Regions from separate parts of the Homo sapiens genome. Here region 1 is linked to region 2. Evidence: promoter capture Hi-C in 16 types of primary human blood cells and fetal thymus (Javierre and others, 2016). All regions are on one chromosome and are shown on one strand. Each heading gives the region's core, a stretch centred on a gene start or on the middle of the fragment in contact. The rest is flanking DNA. Distances are from core to core; before and after follow the strand shown.

What was found. The method cuts DNA at HindIII sites, captures the fragments that hold promoters and counts their contacts. A CHiCAGO score of 5 or more calls a contact.
Region 1: the fragment with the promoter of CSN1S1 here is called in contact with a fragment that was not itself captured in region 2 in 1 of 17 cell types (neutrophils); the score reaches 5.1 in neutrophils.

The regions. Positions count from the first base shown.
Region 1 is chr4:69,929,763-69,932,462 of GRCh38, reverse strand. CSN1S1 (casein alpha s1) reads right to left here and starts at 1,395. Exons shown (of 16, transcript NM_001890.2): 1 at 1,346-1,395. The HindIII fragment of the contact is 13,101 bases long and covers 1-2,700 here.
Region 2 is chr4:69,654,517-69,657,216 of GRCh38, reverse strand. No RefSeq gene overlaps it. Among named protein-coding and RNA genes, the nearest start is that of UGT2A1, 2.6 kb to the right of the region's middle. RefSeq lists an enhancer at 1-893. The HindIII fragment of the contact is 688 bases long and covers 969-1,656 here.

The DNA.
Region 1 (2,700 bases), core at 146-2,645, 280 kb before region 2:
AAAGGAGCAAATTATGATAAAAGTAGGCTGATTTGAGGAGCTGTAATGTGAATTTTTATAAACTTAAGATTTTAAAAACTTTACTACTCAATATCAATGTTTACCATTCTAGTTATTTTTCTTAGTTCTTATATTATTTAGAAATACTAATTTCTTACAAACATTTTTCTTCACTAACACTTTAAAACATAACATTTTGTTCTTAATGTAATAATATGGCTTAGAGAAATAAAGAAGTGCTAATATTGAAATACAATTGAAAAAAGAAAACACTTTTCCTCCTAGATGACAAATCAGATTTTCTAAAGTGGGCAATAAAGTTAAATCCACTGAGAACTGGAATTTAATTTTATTGAAAAGTTTTGAAAATGAGCTTCTCTTTTAAATCTATTTGAGAGCATTCTTTTCTTTTAGAGTCTTCATGAAAAATCCTGTCTGCACGTTATGTAAAAGCTATTGATCTCTTTCAATTTTTAAATAAAGAATCTAGCCATAACTTCGTGTTTTGCTACATTGGAATATTCATGACATAAATATATAAAGATGATTGAATTGGATAGAATCAAAATATTGACATGTCTTATATTTGATTTCCAGAGTTTCATTAAATTGCAAGAACCCCGAAATATGGACATCCACATGTACTGGGAAAATGGTTTCCAGAGAAATCATTAGAAAAAAAATCAGGTCACACATACTATTTGTTCACACCTTAATCAACATACAAATGCTGACATTTATATATATTGCTTCAGTCTACAAATTTTAGAATCTAAATGTGTTAATAAAAAAGGCATATTTTTGAACCCAAATAAATTTACTATTTGTGTCTTTCTGAATATCTAAATTTAATAATCATTACAAAGTAGCCATCAATAGCTAATTATCTATAATAGATATTCACATTGTAGAGTTAATTTTGTTGCCCAAATGACATGAAACAAAAATGGCCTTGAACTATTCTGCTAGAAATGGTTTTTGCTATGGTAATTACAAAAATAAGAAATTATTTGCATAACAACTTCTCATAGAATTAGGTAAAAATAATTTAAATTAGCTTACCCCAAGCCTCTACTGAAATTATGTATCAACTTTAAAAATATATTTTAGTTACAAAATTATCAAAAAATGATTTGGTATTTTTATAAAACTGTATTGATTCATCACCTAAAGCTGTAAAATGGTATCAGAATTTGCAAAAGGATTTTTAAGGTGCCAGAAAATCATAAGAAGTTTTAATATTTGCAAACATATGGAAATGGTACAAATATACTTAGTAAACAGTGGAAGAAAGAGATTAGATAATGTAAAATGATAGCAATTTTGCTGTATGTAAACGCAGTACCTTAAGCCCAAGTCTGGAGAGAAGCAAGTTGTGTTGATGACCAAGATGATGGCCGATCTCTTTGCTTTACGCTATTTAAATGTGGTAATTAGAAAATGCTAATTTTGTGGTTTCAGTTCAACCAATAGGTTTATTTAAATTCTAAGAATTCTCCCAAATAGGAAACTAATTTTCTGTCCAATTCCTTTCCCAGGAAATTCTGAGAATTTTCAACAGGGAGTGATTCATGCTATGATAACAGATTACACAAGAAATAAAGTGGCATTATTGCAAATTAAAATACAAAAATTTCCAAATTTATGGCTATTATAAAAACATGATTTTATGTTGAAGGGATAATTTGACAGGAACATATTAATAAAATTCTCTGTATATCTTTTGAAAAATTCAATTCCTATAATGGAAATCCTGGGGACAAAATAGGGTCTTAGAAACGTTCCAATTTCTATCAGTGTACCAGGCCATTAAAAGAATTCATCATTTATTTACCTTTTAAAATGCAGCTTGTCCTCTATTATTTATTGTGACTATCTGCTTTATGGATTAACTTATACTGTATATGCTCTGATCTTTTTTTCAAAGAAGGATATCCAACTGTCCTATGTGTTTTGGTGATATTTAAGCTACAGCAGACAATTTTTTGTTTGCTTTCTTTTAGGCATATTGGTTGTGATAGTATTTATTTAACAAATTATAACATTGACTAATTAGAAGTAATATTTATTCATTAATTTTAATTTTAAAAGATTTTGGAAAATTATGCCATACCTCTGATTTCCTGTTTTTTAAAAGTAAATAAAGGAAAGAAATGAAAATGCCTCTCTCCTATCCCAGACTCTGTTCCTTTATGTTAACTATCATTATACAATGTAGAAAAATACTATATCCTGAGGAAAATATCTGTAATAGAGAGGGTTTTTAAAAATTGTTGTTGACTGCGACTTTGCTTTTTTACAGGAAAAGAATCATACTATATATTTTAGGAAATAAAAAAATAGTAATGATATTTACAGCCTTTTCACAGTCATATGAAAAGGGCATTATTCTGGGTTAACACACATTTCAGACTGGTTAATTTCAGATTGGGGATCAGAAGAGATGTACTTTTCCATATTAAAGTTCTCTTTAGTTAGTGTTTTCCTTACTGACTACATCACATAAATTTCAACAACTTACTAGTGTTTCCTATTCACTGTGATTCATTTAAGAGGCTGAGACAAGCATCAGCTGTATTACAGTACCTTGGTTTTGTCTTTTCCCAGAAGTGTACCCAGGAAAACTGATTTATTTTACTCCTAACTCAAAATCAAGCTATACCTACCAACCAAAAAAAAGGCCAGGACCAGATGGATTCA
Region 2 (2,700 bases), core at 63-2,562:
CGCGGCTTCATCCTTGAAGACAGCGAGACCAAGAACCCACCAATTCCGGACACACTAGGAGAAGTACGGCTGCCTCTGCTGAGTCATGTAGGTTGTCAGGTAAGTAGGGGAAAGCCAGCAGTCACAGGCCTCACCTAGTTCACATGCTAGCTGAAGGGCCAGTCTCACTCCCACCGTGTCCCCCTCAACAACCTGGAGTCTGTTTCCAGGTGGAGGGTGAGCCCTGCTTGAAAACTTGCCTGAGGCTTTCCACCTCCCGGCTGCCAAAGAAAAGGGCTTTAGTTTTCCCCCCTGCCTGTGAGGTCTGCATGCTGGATTCACACCCTCCTTGAAGTACTGGCCAGGAGGCTTCATGCCCCGTTCAAATTGTTACAGAGTTTAGCTAGAGAATTCCTTCTGCCTGTGGTATTTTACCCCCTACTTCTCTGGCCAACCTCCCAGTGGATCCCTGTGGTGCCAGGCAGGTATGGGCTGCTTGGGGGACCCAGCGAGCTCCCAGGGTCTTTCCGCTACTTCCCCTACCCCTGTATTTCACTTGGCTCAGCTCTCTAACTTGACTCAGCTCCAGGTAAAGTCAGAAACAGCTTCTCCAGTGGGGTGTGTGTTTGGAAGAGAAGGGTCTCCCTTTCCAATTTCTGCAGTTGGGACACCCACAGTATCTGTGGTGTCTCCTTGGTCCTGCAGAAACAGTCTGCTTCCGGCAGAGGATCTGTGGGTCCTCTCAGGATTACCGGTTTGCTCTTGCAGTCGATCTGGAGCTAAAATTCAATGTGCAAGCCTCTGTCTCCTGCTCTGTCTGGAACTGCAATCTAGTCCTGCCTCCTATCTGCCATGATGCCTCAGTCATCACAAATGATATTTTAATAACATTATGACTAAGCATGCATACCCTGTAGTCAGATAGTATACATTTAAGTACTGGTTGTGACATTAAGTCTCTGAGTGTTACTGGGCAAGTTACATAAGCTTTCTATGCCTTGGCATTTTCATCTGAAAATGGGAACAAAATAGTATTACCTACCTCAAAAGGTTGTTGTAAGAATTAAATTAATCTACATAAAATACTTAGAATAGCACATGGCACATTGTAAGAGTACCATAAATGTGAAATTACAAAAAAACTGAAAATGCAATGAGATAAAAATTTATATTGAAGTAATGTGTGTAAAATTAATCACAAGAAGAGAGAATCATTCACAAGAATGTAAAATTTGAGAAGCCATTTGAGAATGTATTGTATGGTGGGCTGTTTGCCATATGGCCCTCAAAATTCTCCCACTATGACCCTAGGCTTGGCCAGGTAACTTGTTTGATCTAATAGAACTCTACAGAAGTAAAATATGACTTCAAGGCATAATCCTTAAGAAACCTTGCAGGTATTATCCTCACTTTTTTGGGACAGTGCCAGGGTGCAGCTAGATGGAGTTTCTTTACATGAGAGTCTAAGAACATTGTTTCAAGAGAGTGACGGCAAGAGTCGATATCCAAAACTTAAGTGAAGCCACCTTAGACAATCTGTCTGAGTGGAGTGTGTTAGGGTTCTCCAGAGAAAGAGAACCAACAGGATGTGTGTGAGAGTGTGTATATATGTATGTGTGTAGAGAGACAGATATGTACATTTATTTTAAGGAAATGCTTCATACAGTCGTGGAAGCTTGGTAAGTCCAAAATATGCAAGGTAGGCCAGCAGGCTTGAGACTCAGGGAAGAGTTGCAATTTGAGTCCAAAAGCAGTCTGCTGGCAGAATTCCTTCTTACTTAGGTCTGATGTCAATTATTGTCTATTAAGGCCTTCAACTAACTGGATGAGGCCCACCCGCATTGTGAAGAATAATCCAGTAAAATATTATCTCATTCCCAAAACACATAGACAGAAATATTTAGAATGACGTTTGACCAAATATCTGGGGACTATCATCCAGCCAAGTCGATACAAAAATTAACCATCACATAGAACCACCAGGATGACTTTTGCTGCATGAGGTATATACAGGGAAATCAGTAGAACTGTCCAACTGAGCCCAGCACAAACTTCTCACCCAAAAAATTGGTAGCAAATAAAATGATTGTTGGTTGAAGCTACTAAATTTGAAGTGACTTTTTTCACAGCAATACACAACTGATACACATAGGAAAAATAACTCAGAAATTAAAATGAAAAGAAAACATTTGACATGAATTTTTCAAAATGCTTTTTAAACATTGATAAAAATTATTATCATACATGGTATGAAATATGGTTGTTTTACAAAGAAGTTTATTGGTTAACCTTGAAGTTGATGATACTTTATTCAGTATTTCTCATTAATTATAAGTGGTGAAAATTGTTGTCATTGAATTGGGTAAAATGAGTCATTTCCAAGAAAAGCTTCACCAATTTAAAATATTTTCTTGTTATAGAGTTAGTCCCATGAAGCCTGTTAGTCTTCATGGGAGGGTGAGTAGAATAACAGTAATCTTTTACACCTAGAAATATATTGGAATCATAGGGAGTCTTCAGGCCTACTGTGTCCAGTGTTCATTATAAATTTTTCTTATTTCGAGTCTCTCTTTTGTCTAGTTGGGAATCATGCTGTTCAATATTTTCAGTTACTGGCTTTGCTCATTCTGTCCTAGATAGAAATTTAACCACCTGTAGCAAGTAAAAATCTTGGACAAGCAAAAAAACTTTTATATTACAGTTAATATATTTGATATAAAT